Linked DNA regions of Homo sapiens: region 2 is linked to region 1. Evidence: promoter capture Hi-C in 16 types of primary human blood cells and fetal thymus (Javierre and others, 2016). All regions are on one chromosome and are shown on one strand. The core of a region is centred on a gene start or on the middle of the fragment in contact, and the rest is flanking DNA. Distances in the headings are between cores, read along the strand shown. Region 1 holds the start of ORC1 (origin recognition complex subunit 1). Region 2 overlaps SHISAL2A (shisa like 2A).

Region 1 (5,369 bases), core at 2,069-4,568:
CCATGTTGGCCAGGCTGGTCTTGAACTCCTGACCTCAAGCAATCCACCTGCCTTGGCCTCCCAAAGTGCTGGGATTACAGGTGTGAGCCACCACACCTGGCCATATATTGAATTTTAAAACAGAAAGAAGATATATTTAATAACAATACAAGAACAAGTACACATAAACATGACTGCTGGTTTTGGAAAAAAGTAAGTCATCTGGGTTCAAATTCTGACTCCGTAATTTACTAAGTCTGTGACACTACTGGTCAAATCATGTGTTTTCTCAATCCTTGTAAAACGGAGATAATGCTACCTAATTTATGGCTTGGTATATAAACAAGAAATGCATTGAAAGTGCTAAGTATAGCACAGAGCACACAGTAAGTGCCTAACAAAAGTTAGGTATTTTCTAGCTGTTAATGCTTTATTAGAGTCGTTCCAGCCAGGGGCGGTGGCTCACGCCTCTAATCCCAGCACTTTGGGAGGCGAGGCAGGTGGGTCACCGGGTCAGGAGATCGGGACCATCCTGGCTAACGCGGTGAAATGCCGTCTCTAGTAAAAATACAAAAAATTAGCCGGGTGTAGTGGTGGGCGCCTGTAGTCCCAGCTACTTGGGAGGCTGAGGCAGGAGAATGGCATGAACCCAGGAGGCCGAGCTTGCAGTGAGCCGAGACTGCGCCACTGCACTCCAGCCTGGGCAACAGAGCGAGACTCTGTCTCAAACAAAAAAAAGAGTTGTTCCTCTTCCCTTTTTCCTATATCTAACTACTTAAATTTCCTCTTGGGTAACTAGGAGGCTTTTGAAAGTCATAGTTTCTTTGTACGAGAAGCAGAATACTGTAGCAAAGAATATGAACTCTGAAGCCAGATTTGCCACTTACTAGCTGTTTGAACTTGGGCAAAATTAATTAATCTCTGTGCCTCAGTTTCCTCTCCTGTAGAATAGGGATTAAAAGTTTAGAAGGTTGTTGTGAAAGTGAAATGAATTATTATATGCAAAGCCCTTACAGCATGGCACATAAGAAGCTATTATGTCTGTCTCCTATACTTGTTTGTGATTTCCTCGAGAATCGGTAATACGGTAATAAGCTGACATTTTCTAGGTGTTTACCATGCAGCAAGTGCTGTGTTCAGAGATCTGCATGCATTACGTTCTTTCACTCTTATATTATAGTCACCATTTTACAGATAAGCAAAGTTTAGAAAATTAAGTAACCTCTCCAATGTCATAGTTAATGGGCAACAGAATCTGGATGTGAACCCAGATCTTACACCTCTTAACCACCACCTTTTGTTGTTTGATTTTCACCCCTGAGCGTCCAGTGCCTACCAACATATCAGGCACTCACTTTTGCTTAATATGTATTTAGTGAATCTGTGAAATCCTTTTTCAGGGAAAAATTACCAAAACTGAGAAAGTAAAGTAGAAGATTAATACAATCAGAACAGATAAAATACAAACTTGGCAGGGTGTGGTGGCTCATGCCTGTAATCCCAGCACTCTGGGAGGCCCGGGGGGGGAGGGGATTACCTGAAGTCTGGAGTTCGAGACCAGCCTGGCCAACATGGTGAAACCCCATCTCTACTAAAAATACAAAAATTAGCCAGGCGTGATGGCACATGCCTGTAATCCCAGCTACTCGGGAGGCTGAGACAGGAGAATCACTTGAACCCAGGAAATGGGGGTTGCAGTGGGCCGAGATCGCACCACTGCACTCCAGCCTGGGCAACACAGAGAGACTCTGTTTCCAAAACAAAAAACAAACAAAAAATACAAACTCAAGGGCTCAAAAGCAAAAATCTGGAGTGGAACTCTCTAGAAATGAGATACATTGTGTACACCCCTCTTAACCAAAGCCCAATTCTAAACCGCCAAAATTAAACCTCTTATATTAGCTAGTGAACATTGCACTCACTTGAAATCTTCATTTTTGATAAACTCTACAATGATATCCTTCTCGGGTTGAATTTGAAGCATCTTCAAGGTTAAACACAGAAAGGGTGTTGGTTTTATGTTGCCACCATAGACGCCACCCACAAACCTTAACTCCATGGCTTTATCGACTACAAGTTCAGCTAAAAAACAAAAACAATACAGTAACATATTAGGGCTAAGCTCTTCCTAGTTGGAGTGGAGTTAGTTCAAGCTTTGGTTCTCCTAAATATACATCAACAGTGTAATATTAGGAGAACGAATGTGTATTAATAACAGTAACGACAACAGCTAATATACATTGAGAATGGATAATAAAATAGGTACCCTGCTAAGCTTTTCATATTATCTCACTTAACCTTTTTTAACAAGTCATGAAGAAAGTTCTAGCAATGTTCTTATTTCCAGGTAAGGAAAATGAGGGCTAAGAAAGGTAAAGTGACTTGCTCAAGGTCCACAGATTGTCACAGGACATGGATTTAAAGCCACAATTCAAATCGGAAGATTACCTGGAAGACTTCTCTGAAGCACTGATATTTATAAATACTGGAACCGGCCCAGATCTAAGAATAGTAAGATCATGAATTTGGTTTCAGGCATATTAACGTTAGGTCCTTAAAGACCTTCAACAGATTGTGTCAAAGTGTTATATCCGGATCCCTGAGCTTAACACTGTTGCAACCCAGCCTGCTATCATTAAATACGGAATAACTCACAACACCCAACTGAGACAGCCTTCAGAATATGACCTTACCAGATTCATCTGTGCCTCTAATACTCAACACAAGACGAGGCACTTAGCAGGCACTCAAAATTTTTCTGAATGATCGACATACTCCGTTCCAGTACCACCCCCAGAGGCCAGTCGCTAGTCCTACCCGCGCTCGGTCAGGAGAAATGGGCCACAAGGGGGCTGAGAGGCGCTCCGCGCGCTTCCACTTACCTGTAAGTCCAAAGCACTCCTCTTTCCAGTACTTGGACTCATAGATTCGCGTTCGAATGATCTTCTCCACCAGATATTGAGGGTTGGTGCCATGGATGCTGTGCGCATCCTTCACTGTACGGTTAGCCATTTTAGAATGCCTTCAATTCTATTTCCGTCGGATCCTTTAATGCCTCACATCCAGGTTCAGAAAAAGCACCTAGAGGAATGGAGAAAGGTGGAAGAAGTTTCACTAAACAGCTTAGGCGACCATCTTGAAGCCGGAAACACCGTAGTGTAAAGGGCTTCCGCTCCCCGCGTCGCCTATCGAATCAATGATGGCGGCTGCATGTTAGCGGATGTACGTCATGCGCCCCTCTTAGGTGTACGGAGTGGGCGGGGCGAGCTAGTTGGTGTCGCAACGAAGGGACGGTCTGGGGGCGGGGCCACGCCGATTGGCGCGAAGTTTTCTTTTCTCCTTCCACCTTCTTTTCATTTCTAGTGAGACACACGCTTTGGTCCTGGCTTTCGGCCCGTAGTTGTAGAAGGAGCCCTGCTGGTGCAGGTTAGAGGTGCCGCATCCCCCGGAGCTCTCGAAGTGGAGGCGGTAGGAAACGGAGGGCTTGCGGCTAGCCGGAGGAAGCTTTGGAGCCGGGTGAGTGTGGCGTCCAGCGGGCTGCGAGGGACTCGGGGGAGGGCGCATCGGAACCTCTGAAACTGAGGACGTTCTCTGTAGACTCAGTCATTGATTCTTTTAGCTGACATGTACCAAGCGCCTGTTCAGTGCCAGGCACTGTTCTGAACTGTTAAGAGCGTTCCTCTGTTCCACACTCCGATTCCTAAAAGGCTTCCCGCGCTGCAGGGAACTGAGTTTGCAGGGGGGAAGGCGGAAGCCAACAGCCTAGAAGCAGGAGCATTCCTGCCCTCCGCACCCTGATGCTCAGTGATGACTTTCCCTCCATCTGCATTTGTAAAGCACTCTACTTGTTTCGTTCTTTGAGCTATAGTGTAGGAACCACTACAGGGAAGGCGGAGCAGAGGTTATTACCCCATTTTACGGACGTAAATTGCGCCCAGGGAGGGACGTGTCTTAGGTCGCTTTTCGTGACTAAGCAGTCTGGGCTCCTACCCAGATCTTTTTTTCAGATGAGCTCCTAACTGCTGGGCTGTCTGTCATTCACCTTCTTTTCAGAAGAGAAGTCTGGTGGCCCCCTTCCTACTTCTCTTTTCTAACCCCGGAATTGAAGAGTCTTCTGCTGTGACAGTTGGAAAAGGCATTCTTATCCTGATCTATTTGTGAAACTGCAATGATTATATACGATTCTAGTTGTCTGTAACACATGAATAATAGTACCCTCGTCTCTGCTGTGTTAGGTGGGCTGGAAATGCCAAAGGAGTTTCCAATATGACAGAATGGTTTAAGTCCCTTTGCAACAGTTTTTAACTTTAATGGAGGGCAATATGTGGACTTTAGGAGGTTTGTGAATCTGCCGAAATTGAATGCAAAATTTTGCTTGAATTATGTTAGTTCCATAGTATTCATCAAATGATACTTAATAAATAAAACCACTGTACCTTACAAATAAATGCAAGGGATTAAGGTAGTGGGAAAGTGGATTTACCATTTTGCATTTTTTCACTTAATCTTCCATTATCCTAAAATAGTGCCTGGCACACGATGGGTACTTAATAAATATTGGTTGAATAAACGGAAGATTCTATTTTCTCCATTTTGTGGGTAAGCAAATTGAGGCCCAATCCACAATGTTCAGTCAGTGGCTGGGAAGCCTGATTTATTGTAATAAGTACACCAAAAGCAAGCTCTCAGTTACATATTAACATTATCCAGTTTCACACAGTGTGTTGTAAGGTGAAGTAGTTAAGAGCACAGTAATTGCAGTCTGGCTTTTCCGGGTTTGAGTTAAGGCTGTGCCATCCTGTATAAGATAGGATAAGTTATCACCTTGAAGTGATAATAACATCTACTTTTCTTTTTTTTATTTTGAGACAGAGTTCTGCTCTGTCACCCAGACTAGAGTGCAGTGTTGCGATCTCGGCTCACTGCAGCCTCCACCTCCCGGGTTCAAGTGATTTGCCTGCCACCATGCCCACCTGATTTTTGTATTTTTAGTAGAGACGGGGTTTCACCATGTTGGCCAGGCTGGTCCCGAACTCCTGACCTCAGGTGATCCACCCACCTCAGCCTCTCAAAATGCTGGGATTACAGGCGTGAGCCACTGCGCCCAGCCTTTGTATTTCTGTTTTATCCTTGTGTGCATTTTATAAGCGTCATGAAGACATTTACAACCCCTGTATCACTGTCTTTTAATTTCACTTTGTTAGATGTTTTACACCTATTGTTCTGCCTTATTCCTAGTATTTCTAAATGTTACAGTTTCATTTCTTAGGAATTGACCTTTCTGTTTTCCTGGATGGAAAGAGATACGGCATAGTACAAGATGGACACAGATGATACTAAATTGCCTGTGTGTAATCTTCGTAGACCATGACTTCAAATAAAATGTTTTC
Region 2 (5,369 bases), core at 1,278-3,777, 250 kb before region 1:
GTAATTTAGTCCTTCCCCAAGCCCTATTAGAAGATACTACTAAGATTCCAGCTTATATAGATGAGAGGACTGAGGCACAGAGGTTACCTAGCAAGTAAGTGACAGGGGCAGGATTTTAACCAGGCATTTGGCTCCAGAGTTGTTCAGTATTACATAGTTTACTGTTATTGTCCATTTGTAATTTAAAAAGTCTTTTAGCAGGAATACTATGTTATCATCCATTGGTCATTTAAAAAGTCTTTTAACAGGCCAGGTGTGGTGGCTCACATCTGTAATCCCAGCACTTTGGGAGGCCAAGGCAGGCGGATCACTTGAGGTCAGGAGTTCAAGACCAGCCTGGCCAACATGGTGAAACCCCGTCTCCACTAAAAATACAAAAATTAGCCAGGCATGGTGGCACACACCTGTAGTCCCAATTACTTGGGAGGCTGAGGTGGGAGGATCACTTGAACCCGGAAGGCGGAGGTTGCACTGAGCTGAGATCATGCCATTGCACTCTAGCCTAAGTGACAGAGCAAAACTCCGTCTCAAAAAAAAAAAAAGTCTTCTAGTAATTTAATGTTTACGAAGTGAGTTCAAATCCATCACCTCATTGAACACTTGCAATAACCCAGCAAGGGGACTGAGGCTCAGGAAGACAAGGGACTTTATCAAGGCCACACAGTGGCAGAGTCCACCCTCTGGAGCCTGTATTCAGTCTGATAACCATTCATTCATTCATTCATTCTTCTTCTTTTTTTGTGATGAGGTCTTGCCCAGGCTGGAGTGCAGTGGTGTGATCATAGCTCACTGCAGCCTCGACCTCCAGGGCTCAACTGATTCTCCTGCTTCAGCCTCCCAAGTAGCTGCAACTACAGGTATAAGCCACCACATGTGGCTAATTTTTAAATTTTTTGTAGAGTCTGGGTCTCACTGTGTTGCCCAAGCTGGTCTTGAATAAGTGGGCTCAAGTGATCCATCCACCTTGTCCTCCCAAAGCTCTAGGACTACAGGCGTGAACTGCCGCGCCCTGCCCCTATTCATTCTCTCACTTAGCACTCACTCCTTCATCTACCTAAGAAATAGAATGACGCCTGAGCCCTGTGCACAACATACTCCCTCTCTATCCGTCCCTCTGCAAGGGGCTTACTCCAGGATGGCGCACTCCAGGGTGAGGCAGAGCTGCTGAAGAGGCAGAGATCATCCCCCTCTGAGGGCTAATCATCTTCTCAGGGGCTCCTAAATACACCTACTGTGGGGCAGGAAAACCATGTCAGAGTTCTCTGACTTCCCAGTTGGGTGAGGGGCTCCTCTGTGCCTTCACAGGCCCCAGGCTTCCACCCGATTGCATGGAGTTGTTACTGACCATTTTTCCTAGGAGTCATGTCAAAGTTCTTTGGCCCACAATAGGCCAAGCAGAACAGTATGGCAGGGTCCACAGCAGGGCTGGGTATCTTTGCTGGGAGAAGCCCTCATTTATCATGCTAGGCTCTAAAGTCCTTTCCCACTCCCACCTTTCACTGAAGAGACTCCAGAAGGGGATGGTATGGAGACATTTATTGAATGTTTATGGGACTGGTCCACATAGGTCAGGGTTGGGTACAGAGGCTTCCTCAGGGCTGCCTGGAATGTCACTGGTGGTCACTGTGGCCATGAAGCAATGATGGAGGAGGCGTTTGGAGTTCACAGCCTGCCCCTCATTGCTCTCCAGCTGCGGGTTCAAGCAGGAGTAACTCTGCTGGAGAGGGCTCACTTTTGGCACTTCTGCCGCCATGCCTGTGTTCACACCTTGGCAGTCAGGAGAAACCTCCTCAGGGCCTGGAAAACAGCAAACTGAGGGTGTGTGGCTCTCTTCTTCCCCAACAGGATCACACTCCCCAGCTGACTTCTCTGGTGCTTACCTTGGGCAGTGCACTGTGGTCAGAGCCTTAGAAGCATCATTTGTTTAACATGTATTTATTAACAATACACCACATTATGCACTGAGAGCTGTCAGTGTTGCTCATGAACTTGTAGTTTGGTGGAGGAAACAGATAAGAAACAATTGTTAAGAGCTATGAAGACTTGACCTTCACCATAACCCTATGAGGTAGGTACTATTAGAAATCCATTTTATAGATGAGAACACAGGATTACCATACAGCTAGTATGGAGAAGAGTGGTGGACATTTTTAAAACATAGATTGTTCTCGCTTTGAGAATAGATTCCATGCTTCTCTTTGCTGAGTGACTTATCTTCTCTCTTCCTCTTAAATCAAAGCTTGAAAGGAAGTCCACTTGGCCTTATTATTCTCTACCTTCCATTCATGACTTGTTCAGCTGCAACTTACTTTGTTCTGCCCCCACTATACCTTCAAACTATTTGTCACTAAACCCATAGTCACTTCTAAATCCTTATCTCCCTTATCAGGAACATTTAACATTATTTATTTATTTTAAATTTTACTTTACCAGTTATAGGACTCTGATTCTTTTTTCCTTTTTCTTTTTTTAATCAGGAGCATTTGACACAATTGAACATTTCTGTCTTTCTAGATAAAAAAATGTATCAAGTGTTTAAGCCAAAAATTCGAGTCATCTCTCACACCTTCTACCTCGGCCCTTTCACAAAGCCAGGTCCTGCTGGTTCCACCTAATAGTCATCTGTGGTATCCACCCATTTCTCTCCATCCTCAAGGCTACCACCTTAGATCAGGCTTTCATCTTCTTCTGCCCAGACCCCTGGAACGGCCTCCAGTGGGGGCCCCTCCATCACGTCCTCCATGCTGTAGCCAGAGAGATCTAAGATCTTTCTAAGATCAAGTGAGTCTATGTACTATTCTTTCTGAAAGCTTTCAATCTCTTTCCATTACCTGTGCTCCTTGAGATGGCATCTCATTGTGGCTTTAATCTGCATTTCCTTAATGACTAATGAAGTTGAACATATTTTCATGTGCCTATTTGCCACCTATATATCCTTTTTCAAAAACATTATTTTATTTTGAGATAGGGTCTTGCACTGTTGCCAAGACTGGAGTGCAGTGGCTTGAACATGGCGCACTACAGCCTTGACCTCCTGGGCTCAGGTGATCTTCCCACCTCAGCCTCCTGAGTAGCTAGGTCTATAGGTGTGCACCACCACATCCACCTTTTTTTTTTTTTTTTTTTTTTTTTTTGTAGATACAGGGTCTCATTATATTTCCCAGGCTATCCTGAAGTCCTGGGCTCAAGTTATCCTCCTGCCTTGGCTTCCCAAGTTGCTGGGGTTACAGGCCTGAGCCACCATGCCTGGACATTTTAAAACATAGATTGTTCTCTGTTTGTCTTTAATGAAGTGTCTGTTCAAGTCTTCTGCTCATTTTCTAATGGGATCATTTGTTTTCTTAATGTTGAGTTTAGGGTGTTCTTTATATATTTTGTTTTATTTATTTATTTATTCATTTATTGAGACATATCACTCTGTCACCCAGGCTGGAGTGCAGTGGCGTGATCTCAGCTCACCACAACCTCCATTTCCTGGGTTCAAGTGATTCTCCTGCCTCAGCCTCCTGAGTAGCTGGGATTACAGGCTTGTGCCACAAGACCTGGCTAATTCTTTTTGTATTTTTAGTAGAGACGGGGTTTCGCCATGTCAGCCAGGCTTGTCTTGAACTCCTGACCTCAAGTGATCCACCCACCTGGGCCTCCCAAAGTGCTGGGATTACAGGCATGAGCCACCACACCCGACCAATCCTTATATATTTTGTCAAATATGTGAATATATTCTCCAGTCTGAGGCTTGCCTTTTCATCCTCTTAACAGGATCTTTCACAGCATTAAAATTTTGAACTTTGATGAATACTGGCTTATCTTTTTTAAAATGTATTGTGCTTTTGATGTCTTGTTTAAGAATTCTTTGCATAACCGCATGTCATGAAGATTTTTCCCTGTTTTCTTCTAAAAGTGTTAGAGTTTTTTGGTTTACATTTAGATCTTTTTTGAGATAATTTTTGTACAAGGTGTGAGATCTAGGTAAAGGTTTATTTTTTACTTATGGAAGTTTAGTTGTTTTAACACCATTTATTGAAAAGACTATCTTCCCCAGTTGAATTGATTTTGCACCTTCATCAAAAATCTGTTGGACAACCTTATGATGTCAGTCTACTTCTGGACCATATTTTGATCTATGCATGTGTCTGTCCCTCCTCCAATACCACACTATCCTCCTTACTGTTTATTATTGTTGCTATACAATAAGTCTTAAAATTGAGTAGTGTGATTTCCTCCAACTTCATTATTCTTTTTCAGTATTACTTTAGCTATTCTAGTTCCTTTGTCTCTCTATATATAAATTTGAGAATTAGCTTATCTATCTATCTATCTATCTGTCTATCTATCTATCTATCTATCTATCTATCTATCTATAAAACTGCCATTTTGGCCAGGCACAGTGGCTCACACTTGTAATCCCCACACTTTGAGAGGCCAAGAAGGGAGAATTGCTTGAGCCCAGGAGTTCAAAACCAGCCTGGGCAACATAGCAAGAACCCATCTCTACAAAAATAAAAAATTAACAGGGTGTGGTGATCCCTCTCCAATTGTGGGGGTCTGAGCAGCTGCCAGCCAAGCCTTCCAGAAGTTACAAGACCTTGGCTCAAGTCCTCATTCTGGTATTAAACGTTGTGCTACTTTGTGCCAAACCCTTCTCTTCTCTGGATCTCGGTTACTACTTCATAAAATGGAACAGAAAATACGACTGGCCTAATTTTCTGTGAATTCTTTTCCATTGAGCTCCTTGGGAGGCTGAGGTGGGAGGGTCACTTGAGCCCAGGAAGTTGAGGCTAGATTGTGCCATTGTACTCCAGCCTGGGTAACAGAGCAAGGCCCTGTCTCAAAAAAAAAGGGCGGGTTGCAATTTTTATGTTTACTATGTTGAGTTTTGCAATTCATGAACATAGTGTATTTCTCCATTTTAGGTCTTCTTTGATTTCCTTCATCAGCATTTTGTAGTTTTTTTTTTGTTTGGTTGGTTATTTTTAGAGACAGGGGTCTCCCTCTGTTGCCAGGTTGGAGTATAGTGACATGATCATAGCTTACAAGTGAGCCTTGAACTCTTGGGCTCAAGGGATCCTCCCACCTCAGCCACATGCCATCATGCCCGGCTAAGCATTTTGTAGTTTTCTTTTTTTTGAGACAGAGTCTTGCTCTGTCACCCAGACTAGAGTGCAGTGGTGTGATCTGGGCTCATGGCAGCCTCCGCCTCCTGGGCTAAAGCAATCCTCCCATCTCAGCCTCCCAGTAGCTGGGACTACAGGCACATGCCACCATACCCTGCTTTTTTTTTTTTTTTTTTTTTTTTTTTTGTAGAGACAGGAGTCTTGTCATGTTGCCCAGAATGATCTCGAACTCCTGGGCTCAAGCGATCCTCCAGT

What was found. Contacts are between HindIII fragments. The CHiCAGO score rates a contact against its expected background, and 5 or more counts as called.
Region 2: a contact is called between a fragment that was not itself captured here and the fragment with the promoter of ORC1 in region 1, in 2 of 17 cell types (endothelial precursors and naive CD4 T cells). The highest score is 6.0, in endothelial precursors.

What each region holds. Positions count from the first base shown.
Region 1 is chr1:52,402,372-52,407,740 of GRCh38, reverse strand. ORC1 (origin recognition complex subunit 1) reads left to right here and starts at 3,318. Exons shown (of 17, transcript NM_004153.4): 1 at 3,318-3,495. It overlaps PRPF38A (pre-mRNA processing factor 38A), which reads right to left and starts at 3,139. Exons shown (of 10, transcript NM_032864.4): 1 at 2,862-3,139; 2 at 1,902-2,061. The coding sequence starts at 2,991. RefSeq lists an enhancer at 2,620-3,819. The HindIII fragment of the contact is 1,229 bases long and covers 2,257-3,485 here.
Region 2 is chr1:52,653,218-52,658,586 of GRCh38, reverse strand. SHISAL2A (shisa like 2A) reads right to left here. Exons shown (of 3, transcript NM_001042693.3): 3 at 1,522-1,797. The coding sequence ends at 1,547. Among named protein-coding and RNA genes, the nearest start is that of SHISAL2A, 23 kb to the right of the region's middle. The HindIII fragment of the contact is 571 bases long and covers 2,242-2,812 here.